Linked DNA regions of Homo sapiens: region 2 is linked to region 1. Evidence: promoter capture Hi-C in human tissues and cell types (Jung and others, 2019). All regions are on one chromosome and are shown on one strand. Each heading gives the region's core, a stretch centred on a gene start or on the middle of the fragment in contact. The rest is flanking DNA. Distances are from core to core; before and after follow the strand shown.

Region 1 (4,856 bases), core at 1,593-4,092:
TGTTTGTTTGTTTGTTTGTTTGGTGGAGTCTCGCTCTGTCACCCAGGCTGCAGTGCAGTGGCACAATCTTGGTTCACTGCAACCTCCAACTCCCTGGTTCAAGCGATTCTCCTGCCTCAGCCTCCCAAGTGGCTGGGATTACAGGCGCCCGCCACCACGCCCAGCTAATTTTTGTATACTTTAGTAGAGACGGGGTTTCACCATATTGGCCAAGATGGTCTGGATCTCCTGACCTTGTGATCCTCCCGTCTCGGCCTCCCAAAGTGTTGGGATTACAGGCGTGAGCCACCGCGCCCGGCCATGCTCTGCTCTTATGAGCTGGGTGGCCCTGAATATTTTATCCTCTCTGAGCTTCACTTTCCTCATTTGAAATCAGAATCAATAATAATACCTTCCACATGGGCTACAGTCAGAGTGAAACAAGCAACTATAAAAGCACTGAGCTCCTGGCTAACATGGTGAAACCCCATCTCTACTAAAAATACAAAAAATTAGCTAGGCGTGGTGGCGGGTGCCTGTAGTCCCAGCTACTCGGGAGGCTGAGGCAGCATGGCGTGAACCCAGGAGGCGGGGCTTGCAGTGAGGCGAGAGCGAGACTTTGTCTCAAAAAAAAAAAAGCACTGAGTATGGGTTCCAGCACATGGGAAGCTCTCTATAATGTAGGTGCCACCATCATCTTCATCATTGTCTTCATCTCACCTGGATCATCATCAAGTACTTGTAGTTCTATGGGAACCTAATATTAGGTCATCCTAACTCTAGTTTACTTGAAGACTCTATAAGCTCCTATTATTGAACCTGCGTTTGCAGCTAAAGAAATAAATTGACATCTTATGGCCGGCAGTGATGGTTCACACCTGTAAGCCCAGCACTTTGGGATGCCAAGGCGGGAGGATCACTTGAAGTCAGGAGTTCAAGACCAGCCTGGCCAAAATGGTGAAATCCATCTCTATTAAAAAATACAAAAATTAGCCAGGCACGGTGGCGGGCACCTGTAGTCTCAGCTACTTGGGAGGCTGAGGCAGGAGAATGACTGGAACCCAGGAGGCAGAGGTTGCAGTGAGCCACTGCACTCCAGCCTGGGCGATAGAGTGAAACTCCATCTCAAAAGAAAAAAAAAAAAAAAGGAAGAAATTTACATTATATAACTCAAAGTAGAAGCAACATAGTTTAGAAGTCTCCTGCATGGAAGAATTCATAAGACCAAAATATTAAAGGGAGAAAACATTCTATAGGATGACACCCAATCGCACTGACAAGCAGAGAAACAATGTGTGCAATGGTGTCCCGCTACAAGGCAGGGTTCCATGTCCTCTTAGGTCCTGTCACTCTAAGTTTAATTTTACAAAAATGGGGGCTTTAAAAATATCACATACTTAGTGGGGGAGGTTTTGCGTGTGTGGAGACAGAGTGCACAGGACCGTCCGTACTTTCTGCTCAATTTTGCTGTGAATCTAAAACTGCCCTAAAAAATAAAGTTCATTAAAAAAAAAAAATCACGGCCAGGCGCAGTGGCTCACGCCTGTAATCACAGCACTTTGGGAGACCGAGGCGGGTGGATCACAAGGTCAGGAGTTCGAGACCAGCCTGGCCAACACAGTGAAACCTCGTCTTTACTAAAAATACAAAAAATTAGCTGGGCGTGGTGGCGCACGCCTGTAGTCCCAGATACTCAGGAGGCTGAGGCAGAAGAATTGCTTGAACCTGGGAGGCGGAGGTTGCAGTGAGCTGAGATTGTTCCACCGTTCTCCAGCCTGGGTGACAGAGTGAGACTCTGTCTCAAAAAAAAAAAATCACATCCTAAGGTCCCAAGGACATAAAACAAGTTAGAGACCTCATCCAGTTTTTTGTTTGTTTCAGGGACCTGCAACCAACTTTCTTACTGACCAGTTTCCTGGGCTGTCTAGAACAGACAGCTTATGGGGTACTAACCCCATGCTCTATCCTAAGGTACCCCTCTTCATGCAGAGCGACACAGAAAAACAAATTTGTAGCACAAAGTACACCCGATTTGCTACAGCTTACAACTAGCCTCATGAATCCTTTTCTCATTAATTCAAAGTTTGCAAAAAAAAGAAATCACATACTTAAATCACTTGAGCACAGAAGCATATCAAAATCTAATATAAACAAACAAAAAACCCAACTTATTTTAACATGCCACTGAAACTGGGCTCAAGTTTTCAAACATCTTATGAAATATTACACTCTCCAGCAGGCTTTTTTTTTTTTCCTAACTGGAGATGAATGGCAGAGTTCTGATATGGAAAAGCACTCCATGTTTGTACAGAAAGGTAGCATAGGAAAAGTGGTCAAATTCAACCAGTCTGTCCTCATCAAACAGGCAACTACTGTCTTCTCAGCATTTCCAAAAGAAATCATATGCCTGCTACTGTTTATGTCATATGCCTGTTAATTTTTCATGCTAATTCTTAGTGTTTCTGGAAAACCTCACTGTTTGGCACCAAAAATTATTATTGCTATTGTTGTTGTTTTGTTAATTATGTCAGCCAAGCAGATGACGGTGAATTAATTCTGCAACGTTGAGTACTCAGTTGGCATACAAGCACCCAGCCTTCCAAAGGGATGTCCTTCATGTTTCACTGATTTTCGAATGACAGTCAGCTTGCCTAAACTTATCCTTTACATTTAAGACATTTGGTGGGTTCCTGTATGCCCAGGGGATTTTTATTATTTGTTTATGCAAACAGCAGGTTGCATAAGAGCCTTGCTGGCTTTTTTTTTTTTTTTTTTAGAGATTTCGTAGTTTCCTGATAACCATTCAGTCATCTATTTCAACACCCTGACATGACATAAAGGCAGGCACGGAACCACACGTTCACCATACAGACACACGCCACTTTGCTGGAGCATTCACTAGGCGAGGCGCTCCATCGGACTCACTAGCTGCACTCATGAATCGGCACCATCTGCAGGATCACTTTCTGGAAATAGACAAGAAGAACTGCTGTGTGTTCCGAGATGACTTCATTGCCAAGGTGTTGCCGCCGGTGTTGGGGCTGGAGTTTATCTTTGGGCTTCTGGGCAATGGCCTTGCCCTGTGGATTTTCTGTTTCCACCTCAAGTCCTGGAAATCCAGCCGGATTTTCCTGTTCAACCTGGCAGTAGCTGACTTTCTACTGATCATCTGCCTGCCGTTCGTGATGGACTACTATGTGCGGCGTTCAGACTGGAAGTTTGGGGACATCCCTTGCCGGCTGGTGCTCTTCATGTTTGCCATGAACCGCCAGGGCAGCATCATATTCCTCACGGTGGTGGCGGTAGACAGGTATTTCCGGGTGGTCCATCCCCACCACGCCCTGAACAAGATCTCCAATTGGACAGCAGCCATCATCTCTTGCCTTCTGTGGGGCATCACTGTTGGCCTAACAGTCCACCTCCTGAAGAAGAAGTTGCTGATCCAGAATGGCACTGCAAATGTGTGCATCAGCTTCAGCATCTGCCATACCTTCCGGTGGCACGAAGCTATGTTCCTCCTGGAGTTCTTCCTGCCCCTGGGCATCATCCTGTTCTGCTCAGCCAGAATTATCTGGAGCCTGCGGCAGAGACAAATGGACCGGCATGCCAAGATCAAGAGAGCCATCACCTTCATCATGGTGGTGGCCATCGTCTTTGTCATCTGCTTCCTTCCCAGCGTGGTTGTGCGGATCCACATCTTCTGGCTCCTGCACACTTCGGGCACGCAGAATTGTGAAGTGTACCGCTCGGTGGACCTGGCGTTCTTTATCACTCTCAGCTTCACCTACATGAACAGCATGCTGGACCCCGTGGTGTACTACTTCTCCAGCCCATCCTTTCCCAACTTCTTCTCCACTTTGATCAACCGCTGCCTCCAGAGGAAGATAACAGGTGAGCCAGATAATAACCGCAGCACGAGCGTCGAGCTCACAGGGGACCCCAACAAAACCAGAGGCGCTCCAGAGGCGTTAATCGCCAACTCCGGTGAGCCATGGAGCCCCTCTTATCTGGGCCCAACCTCAAATAACCATTCCAAGAAGGGACATTGTCACCAAGAACCAGCATCTCTGGAGAAACAGTTGGGCTGTTGCATCGAGTAATGTCACTGGACTCGGCCTAAGATTTCCTGGAACTTCCAGATTCAGAGAATCTGATTTAGGGAAACTGTGGCAGATGAGTGGGAGACTGGTTGCAAGGTGTGACCGCAGGAATCCTGGAGGAACAGAGAGTAAAGCTTCTAGGCATCTGAAACTTGCTTCATCTCTGACGCTCGCAGGACTGAAGATGGGCAAATTGTAGGCGTTTCTGCTGAGCAGAGTTGGAGCCAGAGATCTACTTGTGACTTGTTGGCCTTCTTCCCACATCTGCCTCAGACTGGAGGGGGCTCAGCTCCTGGGGTGATATCTAGCCTGCTTGTGAGCTCTAGCAGGGATAAGGAGAGCTGAGATTGGAGGGAATTGTGTTGTTCCTGGAGGAAGCCCAGGCATCATTAAACAAGCCAGTAGGTCACCTGGCTTCCGTGGACCAATTCATCTTTCAGACAATCTTTAGCAGAAATGGACTCAGGGAAGAGACTCACATGCTTTGGTTAGTATCTGTGTTTCCGGTGGGTGTAATAGGGGATTAGCCCCAGAAGGGACTGAGCTAAACAGTGTTATTATGGGAAAGGAAATGGCATTGCTGCTTTCAACCAGCGACTAATGCAATCCATTCCTCTCTTGTTTATAGTAATCTAAGGGTTGAACAGTTAAAACGGCTTCAGGATAGAAAGCTGTTTCCCACCTGTTTGCTTTTACCATTAAAAGGGAAACGTGCCTCTGCCCCACGGGTAGAGGGGTGCACGTTCCTCCTGGTTCCTTCGCTTGTGTTTCTGTACT
Region 2 (4,856 bases), core at 86-2,585, 140 kb after region 1:
TTAGACAGTTTGAGCTGAGGTTCTGCCCCTTTCTAACAACCTTGGAAAAAAGTCATTTACTTTCATATTTTGGTTTTTGAACTTAATACATAAGGAGACAACAATAGGAACTACTTTACACCTTTGTTATGAACAAGAAGTAGCTATTTAACCTAATGCCTATTGCATAGCAAATATTAGGTGTTAAAAACAACAATAACTTCATTTTCCAACAGCAAAAAACATTACTGAAATGGACTGAGAGAAGTTGGGAGGTATCTATCCTTAGGGGTTTAAAAATCCAACTATTGGCCAAGTGTGGTGGCTCACACCTGTAATCCTAGCACTTTGGAAGGCCGAGGCAGGCAGATCAGTTGGCGTCAGGAGTTTGAGACCAGCCTGGCCAACATGGTGAAACCCGTCTCTAGTAAAAATACATAAATTAGCCAGGTGTGGTGGCGGACGCCTGTAATCCCAGCTACTCCCAGCTGAGGCAGGAGAATCGCTTCAACCTGAGAGGCAGAGGTTGCAGTGAGTTAAGATCGCGCCACTGTGCTCCAGCCTGAGCAACAGAGCAAGACTCTTGTCTCAAAAAAGAAAAGAAAAGAAAAAAAAAACCCAACTATTGAGCATGGTGGTGCATGCCTGTAATCCCAGCTACTTGGGAGGCTAAGGCTAGAAGAGAACTTAAACTCAGGAGTTCAAGACCAGCCTGGGCAACATACCAAGACCTCATCTCCTATATATAATATTTAAAAAAAGAGAAAAAATTAAAAATCAGTAAGAATCCAGCTATTCTGGAAAAACCAAGTATTCCTCATCTGCAAAAAAGTAAACTCTCTTAAAACCATTTCTAAGTTTCAATGTTATAAGATTATATAGATTTATATTGGTTTTGTAGCTGACATTACTATTTGACAATAATTATGTCCTATATAACACAAAACATTGTTTATATTGCAACGCTTTATAGAAACCTTTCGTGTACAACAGCTGCTCCAAGACACCTGCTAACCCACAGCTCCCAGGTCATTCTCTGTGGGCTCAAGCAGCCGCTCCAAGGCAGCCACAATTGTTTTTTTTCTCCTAGTAGTAAATTTACCCAGGAATTTTTTCACTAGGCCACCCTAGCAGTGAGAAGAGCAGATCTTCATATGTGTAAGTCCATCTTTTCTATCCTATTGATTAATAGCCATAAAAATTGGATTTACTTATATTTTACTTAGTGAAAATGTCACCTCTTTAGAATGATCTGGCTCTTCTTGTAATGCCAGTCGTGCCCATATGATGACTCTTTCTGCAGTTTTCTCAGCTTCAGCAGGAGGCAAAGACTTCAACAGAAGGAGACAGTCTTCACCCTATAAACAGGGTTTGAAAGGAAGAAAAAACAGCTGGTATTTGCAAAGGACGGTGTGGCCTTACCTCTTTCTTTTCTATTTAAAGATGAAAATACATCATTTGGAAAAACAGATTATGGTTCAATGTTTTAATAATCCGAAAATCCATTTTTATTTTATTTTACTTTAAGTTTCAGGGTACATGTGCAGGAAGTGCAGGCTTGTTACATGTGCCATGGTGGTTTGCTGTACCCATCAACCTGTCATGCACATTTTAAGCCCTGCATGCATCAGCTATCCATCCTGATGCTGAAAATCCATTTTTGATGACAGCAAACAATAAAATAAATTTAAAATACGATCCTAGATACTGAAGAGTTAATTCCTAGGCATTGCTATGATTATAGAATCATATAAAAATAATGACATTTAAAAACACAACAGGCCAAGCATGGTAGCTCACACCAGTAATCTCAGCACTTTGGGAGGCTAAGGCAGGTGGATTACTTCAGGTTGAGAGTTTGAGACCAGCGTGACCAACATGGTGAAACACAGCCACTGCACTCCAGCCTGGGCAATGGAGCGAGACCCTGTCTCAAAAAACAACAACAACAACACAGAAACAAAGAAGCCATATGAAATGACAACATAAAACTTACAAACCTGTTCTCTATCAATCAGGTCAATAATTCTTAGACTGTAGATCTCATCATCAGATAACATAAACGCTTGGGCTACCTTTAAAGCATCTTCTAAAGAAGATGGGACATCTTGTTTGAGAATGTATCTAACCACTCTCTGCAAAAGACAATATGAACATTTCTTTGTTATAGAACTCACAGAAAACCAAGAAATCACTTGCTTATAAGAGCAAAGTGGCAAAAAAATTTAAATAATGCAGCAAAAAACTAAATTGTATGAAAGATTAAAACATGATTTATATTCTGATCATTCCACAGTCCTGTCTTCTTTCTTCTACAGCTTCTTAATTTACTATTTGGTGTCTTTTTTTTGAGACAGAGTCTCCCTCTGTCGCCAGGCTACAGTGCAGTGGCGCAATCTCGGCTCACTGCAACCTCTGCCTCCCAGGTTCAAGTGATTCTCCTCCCTCAGCCTCCCAAGTAGCTGGGACTACAGGCACATGCCACCACACCCTGCTAATTTTTTTGCATTTTTAGCAGAGACGGAGTTTTACCATGTTGGCCAGAATGGTCTTGATCTCTTGACCTCATGATCCACCCACCTTGGCCTCCCAAAGTGCTGGGATTACGGGTGTGAGCCACCGCACCTGGCCTATTTGGTGTCTTTAATACTCTCATAAAAAGCCCAGGAGCGGTAGCTCACGCCTGTAATCCCAACACTATGGGAGGCCGAGGCAGGCAGATCACCTGAGGTCGGGAGCTCAAGACCAACCAGCCTGACCAACATGGAGAAACCCCATCTCTACTAAAAATACAAAAAAAAAATTAGCCAAGCGTGGTAGTGCATGCCTGTAATCCCAGCTACTCAGGAGGCTGAGGCAGGAAAATCACTTGAACCCAGAAGGCGGAGGTTGTGGTGAGCCGAGATCGCGCCATTGCACTCCAGCCTGGGCGGCAAGAGCGAAACTCCATGTCAAAAAGAATAAATACTCTCATAAATAACTGAACACCTTATTAACATCATATCTAACAAAAGAAATGTAGTGGAAAAACCTAGCTCTATTAGCCTCCTAGAATATAAATTCCTCATTAAGCTTTCCATATTGCCCCAGAAATGAAAGAGAAAAAAGACTCTTCGAAGAGTGTACTTACCATTATTTCCTTGTTTAAGAGATTTACCTCTCTTATTCCATAGCCTCGTAAAAGTTTTTTCATCTCCATTAGTTTGTAACTTTCCTGTAATAACTTGACTCTGAAAGCAAATTTACCCATATTAACATGGATTGTCTTTTTTATGAAGTACTATGGGACACAGCAAACAATATAGAAACATAAATGAACGTCAACTCAAAACACAATGTTTCTCCAGAGCATAACAACATTGTTTCGTAGACAGTCATCTTACTTGGGATGGTCCATTTCCAGGTGCTGTTTCACCAGTTGCTCCACAGCTGCACTCCAAGGAACCACTGCCGCATACATGATCTTGAGCACGGCATCAAATATGAGCTACAAAAGATGCACGCATGGACAAGGAACAGCCCTCAGGTTTACGATGCATGCAAGTGAACAGCACAGTCTAATCAGCAGGTCTTACATCAACCACATGGTAGTTTGAGAATATTTCATCCACTCACTGGAAAACCATTTATTTCTTCAGTTTTCACATATAGAGAACAATTTGACTATTCAGAAAAATTCAGAAGAGTATTTTTTCTGCTGTAAGCTAAGACATACAGCGTTATTGCTTTCTACGGTCTCTACAATCCCTGGGTTTTTTTTGTTTTTTTGAGGCAGGGTCATGTTCCCATTGCCCAGGCTGGAGTGCAGTGGCGCGATCTCAGCTCACTGCAACCTCCACCTCCTGGGTTCAAGCGATTCTCCCACCTCAGGCTCCCAAGTAGCTTGGACTACAGGCAAGCACCACCACACCTGGCTAATTTTTGTATTTTCTGTAGAGATGCGGTTCCACCATGTTGCCCAGGCAGGTCTCAAATTCCTGAGCTCAGGTGATCTGTCTGCCTTGGCTTCCAAAAGTGCTGGGATTACAGGCATGAGCCACTGTGTCCAGCCTCAGTCTCTGGTTTAAAAACAGTTTTCATTATTTTATTTCTATTTTATAGTGGCAATAACAGTGTGAAGTTAAAATAAAGGCATATTACAATATATTAACAAATGTCTCACATTGCAGCGAATAACTGAAAAAGAAAAGTCTCCATGTTTGCATAACCACAGAAAAGCCTGCAAAGATATGCATACAACTGTCCATGGAGGTTCCCCTGGGGGTGGAAATGAGTAAACATTCACTTTTTATTTTCTGTAATTAAAGAAAACAGACACTTTAGGAGAATGAAGCAGGCAGATCACTTGAGCCCAGGTGTTCAAGACCAGCCTGGGAAACCCTGTCTCTACAAAAAATACAAAAATTAGCTGGGCGTAGTGGCACACGCCTATGGTCCTAACTACTCAGGAGGCTGAGGTGGGGATTGCTTGAGCCAGGGAGATTGAGGCTGCAGTGAACCATGATCATGTCACTGCATTCCAGCCTGGGCGACACAGCCAGACCCATCTCAAACAAAAACAAATATATGTCGCTTTTATGAACAGAAAAAAGCTTTCAGAAAAGATTTAATGCTCAAAAGGGAAACGCAAATGGTCACTATTTACTTACGTCCGTGTCAGATAAACACGCTATTACTGCCATGGCCTTTGCTTCCCATGCTGTTTCAAAGAGTGATGTGGACTTTGAGCTGCATCTATTCAGTAAATCCTAAAAAGGGATAAACATGTATGTTTTTTAAAAATTAAAAATTCTCATTAAAAAAATGCCACATACAGCTAGATACAGATATTATATGGCCTTGATAGATGTGTTAAAAGAAAAAAAACCTAAAAATTC

The links. The method cuts DNA at HindIII sites, captures the fragments that hold promoters and counts their contacts. A contact is called where the count stands out against the background at its distance.
Region 2: a contact is called between a fragment that was not itself captured here and the fragment with the promoter of HCAR3 in region 1, in 2 of the 25 tissues and cell types used here (IMR-90 fibroblasts and mesenchymal stem cells).

Annotation. Positions count from the first base shown.
Region 1 is chr12:122,714,797-122,719,652 of GRCh38, reverse strand. HCAR3 (hydroxycarboxylic acid receptor 3) reads left to right here and starts at 2,842. Exons shown (of 1, transcript NM_006018.3): 1 at 2,842-4,856. The coding sequence starts at 2,916. The coding sequence ends at 4,079. The HindIII fragment of the contact is 11,637 bases long and covers 1-4,856 here.
Region 2 is chr12:122,574,153-122,579,008 of GRCh38, reverse strand. KNTC1 (kinetochore associated 1) reads right to left here. Exons shown (of 64, transcript NM_014708.6): 27 at 4,629-4,727; 28 at 3,363-3,466; 29 at 3,110-3,209; 30 at 1,980-2,114; 31 at 1,218-1,337. Among named protein-coding and RNA genes, the nearest start is that of KNTC1, 49 kb to the right of the region's middle. The HindIII fragment of the contact is 4,952 bases long and covers 1-3,811 here.